2 separate regions of the Homo sapiens genome follow, and region 1 is linked to region 2. Evidence: promoter capture Hi-C in human tissues and cell types (Jung and others, 2019). All regions are on one chromosome and are shown on one strand. The core of a region is centred on a gene start or on the middle of the fragment in contact, and the rest is flanking DNA. Distances in the headings are between cores, read along the strand shown. Region 1 overlaps SLC15A5 (solute carrier family 15 member 5). Region 2 holds the start of SLC15A5 (solute carrier family 15 member 5).

Evidence for each region. The method cuts DNA at HindIII sites, captures the fragments that hold promoters and counts their contacts. A contact is called where the count stands out against the background at its distance.
Region 1: a contact is called between a fragment that was not itself captured here and the fragment with the promoter of SLC15A5 in region 2, in 2 of the 25 tissues and cell types used here (heart left ventricle and neural progenitor cells).

What each region holds. Positions count from the first base shown.
Region 1 is chr12:16,231,253-16,235,089 of GRCh38, forward strand. All of the region lies in intron 5 of SLC15A5 (solute carrier family 15 member 5), which reads right to left. LOC101928362 (a long non-coding RNA gene) reads left to right here. Exons shown (of 11, transcript XR_001749028.1): 3 at 1,829-1,882. Among named protein-coding and RNA genes, the nearest start is that of SLC15A5, 45 kb to the right of the region's middle. The HindIII fragment of the contact is 8,576 bases long and covers 1-3,837 here.
Region 2 is chr12:16,275,694-16,279,670 of GRCh38, forward strand. It overlaps SLC15A5 (solute carrier family 15 member 5), which reads right to left and starts at 1,992. Exons shown (of 9, transcript NM_001170798.1): 1 at 1,632-1,992. The coding sequence starts at 1,992. LOC101928362 (a long non-coding RNA gene) reads left to right here. Exons shown (of 11, transcript XR_001749028.1): 10 at 43-158; 11 at 500-832. The HindIII fragment of the contact is 12,619 bases long and covers 1-3,977 here.

The sequences.
Region 1 (3,837 bases), core at 219-2,718, 45 kb before region 2:
CAGTTAAGGTGGCTGATTGACCACACAATTTTAATTTTCTTTCTCATTCTAGTTAAATGATGGCAAAGAAATTTGGAAAAGGTAAAAAGTCAGAGAAAGAGAAAACAATGGTGGACAAAAATTGAAAAAAATGTAGAAATTGGAAAGAGAAGTGATAACTGATTTAGAAAAATAAATGAGGGAGCTACAATCTAAACTGACAGCTGAGTGAGAGACTGAAGAAGCATGACCCTAATCCTCCTAATCCCCTGAGGAATCATTTAGAAGCTCATGACTTGAAGGCACCAGGTATTTCAGAAGGTGGGGTAACACTCAGAAGGAAAACTGCAAGGACTGGTTGAAAGTCTGTGCACTGAACAGTGAAATTGTCAAGTCTCCAATTCTATCCCCATGAAACAAGGTGAGTATGTGTTCCATCTCCTCCTCTGGTAAGAGACTGGAGATTACTTTTCAGAATTTAAATAGGTGTGACTTTGGATTCAGAGAAGGCTGAGGCTGAAAATGGAAAATGGGTAAAAACTAAGATTTTGAATGATGAGACATCCTCCATTCCTATCTGCACACAGCCACACCTCACCTTCAGCACTAGGAAGTATGCCTCAAAGCAGGAGGCTGAAGAAATCTTCTCTCAATAAGCTGAATAACTCCATTAAAAGATTGCTGCATATAATAGCTGGGGGGAGATTCTCATAATAATATGACTGGTTCCCTTGCCAAATGGCATTCTACAGAGAAACCCCATAAGTCTCACTTATGTACAAAGTCATATCATCCTGAGTAATACTATTATTTTACAATCTATAAGAATAGATATCCCAAGATCACCAGACATTGGAGAAAAGCTTCCCATGTGAAAAACAAGGAGACAAGCAAACAGGAAGTGGGGGTAATCTGTAGTTAATGCAATCAATAATAAGTAGCTATGAAAAAAGAATAATAAGAAATCTTAGAAACCAAATATGACTTCTGAAATACAAAACTCAGCAGAAAATTTGCAGGATGAAGTCAAAGAAATTTCCAAAACAAATAGAGAAACAACAAACCAAAAAAGGCAATAACAATAAAAATCAAACAAACACATTTATAGATTTGAAGAGAAAATATTGAGACTTACTGAGTTATTTTAGGAAGGTCCAACATCTGATCAATAGGAGTTCAAAAGGAAATACAAAGAAAATGGAAGAAAGGAAACTTTTTTTAAAAATAAAATTTTTCTAATTGAAAGAGCCCACCTGGGTCAAAAGTACAATGGTTGAAAAAGACCTTTACCAAAGTACAATAAGATGAAATTTTAGAACACCATGGAAAGAGAGAAGAGCTTTCCGTTTAGGAAAAAAAGATTGTAACACAAGGATAAGCATCAGAAAAGCAATGGACTTCTGGCCAGGTGCAGCAGCTTGTAGCTGTAATCCCAGCACTTTGGGAGGCCGAGGTGGGAGGATCACTTGAGGCCAGGAGTTCAAGACCAGCCTGGGCAACATGACATAACCCCATCTCTACTAAAAATACCAAAATTAACTGGGTGTGGTGGCACATAACTGTAATCCCAGCTACTCGGGAGGCTGAGGCACAAGAATTGCTTGAACCAAGGAGGTGGAGGTTGCAGTGAGCCAAGATCATGCCACTGCACTTTAGCCTGAGCTACAGAGCTAGACTCTGTCTAAAAAAGAAAAAAAGAAAGAGAGAGAGAGAGGAAGAAAGAAAGAAGGAAAGAAAGAAAGAAGAAAGAGAGGGAGGGAGGGAGGGAAGGAAGGAGAAAGAAAGAAAGGAAGAAAAGCACTAGACCTCTCAACAGTAATTTAAGTTGCTTTCTTTGGTTTTCTTTCAGAATTTGAATTCTGTGAGTACCTTCTAAGATACCCCTTATCCTGACTAATTTGAGGTAATTTAGATTTTACAACTATCATGCACTTTTATTTTTTTGATTGTTACTTGTGCTATGTAAAAATGCTTATATTTTATGAAGGAAAGTTTATGGCATTACCAGCAAAAGTTTAGACAAGCATCACTATTTTTTTTCTCTGTAAAAGGCCAGTAATAAGTACTTCAGACTTTGTGAGAAAAACAACAAAATTGAGGATAAGTAGGTACTTACGTAACAAGAGAGAAATAAATTTCTATGATTTTTAAAATTGATAAAATTTAAAATTATTTCTTTTGGAAGGGTGATGCAATTTCAATTAATTAGAGTTTAAAGGTGTTTTCTATTATCAAATCAGTTGCAAATGTTCATCTGTGTAAACCATTCTTACCATGCAGGTCATACAAAAACAGACGGTGGGCCAGATTTGGCCCATGAGCTGTAGTGATTGGCTAACCCCTGGTTTAGTCATCCGCTTTTATTACCTGTTACTGAACTTTCGTTCTGGCCTAGAGAGAAATTGTGGCATTTTACCTGGGCCACTGCTGCCTATACACATGCATGAAACTTGAGAGAGCCGTCTTTTGGGCCACTTTCTTTGTCTTTGATACTGAAAGTGTCCTCCCTGACCAGTAGTGTAGGTATCACCTGGGGGCTTGTTAGACATGCAGAATCTCAGGCTCTGCTCCGGAACTACTGACTCAGAATCTGCATTTAAACTAGGTCTCTAGATGATTCTTATACAAATTAAACTATGAGAAGCACTGCTCAAGCATATAACACTGTCAGGCCTGATCTAGCAAAATCCAATGAAAGACTGTTCTCCAGAAAATTTCAAGCAAAGCACACATATTTAGTTTATTGTCTTAGTTTGCTTGTGCTGTTATTCAAAAAAAGTGTGAGACTGAGTAATTTATAAAGAATAGAAATTTCTTTTCTCACAGTTCTAAAAGCTGGAAAATTCAAGGACAAGGTGCTGGTAGGGTTGGTTGTCTGGGGAGGGCTGCTTTCTGCTTCCAAGATGGCACGTTCCACATGGCAGAAGGTAGAAGAGCAAATGAAATGAATTCTATCAAGACCTTTTATAAGAGCACCTAATCCCATTTATGACAGTGGAACACTGATGACTCACTCTCCTCCCAAAACCAACACCTCCCAATACTGTTGTACTGGGGATAAATTTCAACATGAATTTTGGAGGGAACAAAAACATACAAACCATAGCACTCTTACCTAGGTATTTTAGGGCAAAGCATATTTTAGAGTATTTAAGGATCTATGTTTGCTTCTTATTTGCTACTGCACTCTGGTGCCAATGAAAACTAACTTTCTTAAAATTTAAAGCAAACTTTGATTCCGACCTAAATTTAATCCACTCCATTTTTAATTCTTAACTTGTATGAGATAATAACACACCCAAAGCAGAGTGCAGTTTATCAGAATGTACACATTTTAAACCTCTAGCAGATCTGTACTTACAAGATAAAGCACAATGGTTGCATAGGAGATATTATATTCAGATAAATAATGTGTGTTTTAATACTGCCTGTGTGGTTGCAGACAAGTCCACAAGAGTCTTGAAGTTCTTATAATTTATGCTATTATTGAACCATGTAATAATTTTCCAAATTAGTCTACAATGAAATAAAAGACATTCCGAATTTATTGAAACATTAGGGTTGCACTTGTGATTTCATAATGAAGCTGAACTTATACTAAAAAAGTGGGCATGTTAAGATTCTTTAGGTATTGGTATAAGATTCTTTAGGTATAAATTTATTTGCTGAGAAAACTATGGGTTTCTATGTGTAGTGTGATGTTTGAGTTTCTGATATGTAAGCTCACAGCCTTAAGTATGAAATTCTATGGAGTCCTTGAGAAATTCCCTTTGGATCCATGATTTTGGCAAATTCCCAGGATAGGAAATTTGCTCAGTGTTAATATATCATTCAGTGTTCATGAACTACTCTCATAAA
Region 2 (3,977 bases), core at 742-3,241:
AATGAATGGATGTAGAGTTGACTTAAGTCTTTTGTTTGCCAGATTCCAAAGTTGGGATTTCCATCCTGTCTGATGACTGACCTCAGAATTTAGACTGATAGAAATTACCATGTTAAACAAGAAGTCAACAAATGCTACTGGTGTGGCCTGTTACCAAGGTAAGCAGAGTAAGTTAGTCTGGGATTTGCTTAAATGTCTTCTTATCAGAAAACTTTTTCTCGGTACCAAGTAGCAGCCTCATCACCATCCATTCCATCCTGTCCCCCTACCCAGCTTTATTTTTCCATCCTAACTCATTGCCACATGACATCATATCTATTTCCTCTTTTATTTTCTCTCTCCCTGCACCAAAAAGTCAACTTTAGCAGGAACAGACGACTTTCTTCTCTATTGCATTTCCAGACCCAGAATAATGTCTGGTACAGAGTAGTCAATAAGAAATATTTGTTGAATGTTGAGTGATTATTTGCCATGCAGTGACCTAGTTTTTATTCCACAGAACTAAAGCTGTGAAGTTTCCAGGTTTGACTTAAACTCCAATGGATTCTCTGAATGGTAATTTACCACCTGCCTGAGATTGTGTGATATGTTGAGTACCTGATATCTATCCATCTCTTTCTCATCTGTCCCCCTACCAATACTCATTTCAGCTGCACTTCTCATTATTGGTGAACAGCATGCTATATTCCCAAGTTGCTCAGATCAGAAACTTGGAGCTAATTTTTGACCCCCATCACATTTGTACCTTTATTTAGTTGCCTTACAGCTTTTCACTTGTTCTCTCCTGAATTGGCACTTTATTGCTTAAACCATCATCCTGAGATTTTCTGATCTCTCTCTATTTAATTCCTCACTGTGGTTGTCCATCCTGTATTGCAGAATAGCATTTCTCAAATGTTGTTTTCATGATATTTTCAGAGACTTCTTGTTGCTTAAGAAGAATAACTTGAACTTTTCAGTTTAAAATTCTAGTCTGTTCTTCAAGTTGCTCTCTATTTCTTATTAAACTATCTTGATATTTTCCCAGCATTTCTCACAATCGGTCCCAAACTTTTGCAGATATATATTAGTATATATGTAAAGATGCACACTATAGTGTCTAATTTACTCATTTCTAAAGCATATAATCATAGTTAAAAATATAGAAATCATGCCATCATATGCAATCTTAATTACTATATGACTAATTAAAAGACCACCTTTGGATAAAAACATTTCTCAATTATTTTACATGAACTTCAAAAACCTTTTTTAGCACATTTCATCTTAGTTGTGAAGCAAATACATTTCACATTTCTGAGGGAATTTGTCATGAATTTAGGCTTGAGGTAAAAAGGTTTTGGGAAAGGAGGGCATTCTAAGGAGTAAGATAGATATGTAAAGGAGTAATTATTATAAAATATAAATGCAATGATATAGGCACAAAACATTCTCTAACACACACACACACACACACAGACTTACTAGCATTCTTCAAATAGTACAAAGAATGAAATACATTGAACCCACATTCTTACTTCATTTATCACATTTTATGCTAAGAGCAGAGTGAAAATAATATAAACTAAAAATTCTAACAAAAATCTACTTAATTAAGTCACAAAACAATCCAGTCAGCAGAGGACACTCACCTAGAAAATGTAGAAACAAGCAAATGTACACCAGTTTGTTTCTTCCTAAATAGACATCAGTGAGCCATCTGACAAACACAGGGGTAAGTATTGAAGTTCCAATAAAACACAAGTTTAAGATGGCTGCTTGGCAATTGTGATAGCCAAGCTTGATAGTGCAAAAGGGGATCATGTTGCAGACGACTTCAAAGAACGTGAACCTCTCACACAGCTCCACCAGAAGCAAGCAGATTCCAACCTGAATTTTTTTCACAGAGTGTGAGGAACACAAATCGCCAATATGTCTTACAGTTTTCTCCTTCTCAATGCTGTGATATAAGTGTACTTTCTCATCAGTTATGGTAAAGCCTGTAACAGACATGACTACCCTCCTTGAACAAAACTTATGTTAGTGGTTTGAACTTGGTGATATTTTGAGCCCCATCCCTCTGATGAAAAAAATAAGAACGTTGCTTTGAATTTCACATCTCCATGCTAGAATTTCATAAGGTTTGTTTTTTGCACATGGACGTTGTTCCTTTTGATGATCCAAGAGCATGAGTATTTAAATGTTCACAGTAGCTCAGTGTACCCAAATCTGATTTGTTTGCTTAATTACTTAGCGGCTAAATTAGGATCGTCCTCCAAAATTGTATTGAATTACATGAATCCAGTTGCAAACATGTGGAAACTCATCTGCCTCATACTGATAAAGGTTTAAATATTGAGGCAGAAGAAGCAGGTTTTCGGGAGAATTTGAGCACTAGATCAAGAAATAATTTGAGTCTAATAATTTCTGATACTTTAATTAAACAAGCCAGAACAGTACCAAGAGATAAAGCGCAAAAGGAAATCTGTTTTGAAGGGCACGATATCTTATCATTATTACATTTCTTGTTATTTTTGGTTGGAATTCTGATAAGAAACTTAATTAGGTAACAAAAGTGCTAGTACATTTAGGTAACAAGCAGAGTTTACAAGAAAGTAATTTAAGTGCACTAATGAAAGGAGAAAATATTAAACGAAACCCTGCTTCCTTTTAGTTGACCCCATGCTTGTAGAACAGCCTCTCAGAGGAAATCAGAATCAAAAGGTGCTATTTAACTCCTTTATTATTAATCAGTAGTCAGGGATACAGCAACCAGCCTACACAGGCTTTGGGGAATATTGGATCTGGTATCACCCTGACCCTTCAGCTGGGTGAATGGGTGTTAGCATTCTATTTTGGAAAGCAGGAGGGCCAATTAAGCTAAAAAAGCAGCAGTGAAAGAGAACACCTTAACATTTAGTGGCTTAGCTGCAAGGACATAGGAAGAAAAGGGACCGGAACTATTGGGTCAAAGTCATAATAATTCAACACTTGAGTATAGGAATGTTATTTTCATGCTGTAGTCAAAACCTAAAGACCAATAGGGACTTTTGACTCTGGTTATCATCTTTTGGTTGTGAGAGACTGGGGGCAAAATACTCTGTTTTGACCCCTTCTAATAGCCTCATTGTAATGGTAGCTATTTGTCTCTGCTCAGCATTGCTACTTTGGTAACGATGCCCTAAATTTCCTTTGTGTAAATTGATCATGCAATTTATGATCCAAACTTGGACAGTTTTGTGCAGGTGAAAAGTGATGCTATTTATGGTTACTCCCCAAAAAAAAAAAACAGTTATAAACTGGGACTGTCCAGGGCAACACTCTAACATGTGTTCACCCTACCTTTGGAGAATGACTCCTATCTATTACCTGAGATCATGGTGGGGCTGTTGATCAGCATATGCCTTTTCTTCTAACCAAGTGGGTCAACACCCGGTCTAAGATAGTCCTTTTACTTTTCTCCTGTGGAATTTTAATCTTGAGTGGAATGACTTAAGAATGGGCATGGTGGCAGCTGAGTTATTCAGATGGCAGTGTATTAGTCTGTTTTCATGCTGCTAATAAAGACATATCCGAGACTGGATAATTATAAAGGAAAGAGGTTTAATGGACCTACAGTTTCACCTGGCTGGGGTGGCCTCACAATCATGACGGAAGGCAAAAGGCATTATCTTACATGGCAGCAGGCAAGAGAGAAAAATCGTAGCCAAGCGAAAAGGGAAACCCCTTATAAAACCATCAGATCTAGTGAGACTTATTCACTACCATGAGAACAGTATGGGGGAAACTGCCTCCATGATGAAAATACCTCCCACTAGGTCCCTCCACAATACTTGGGAATTATGGGAGTTACAATTCAAGATGAGACTTGGGTGGGGACACAGTCAAATCATATCAGCAGTACCCAAAAGGGACTGCCCATGAGGCCCTGATGAACTCAGCACCTCCCTGATACTTTTTCTTCTGGAGCTACGATTACTTTTTCCTTCTGTAGAAGG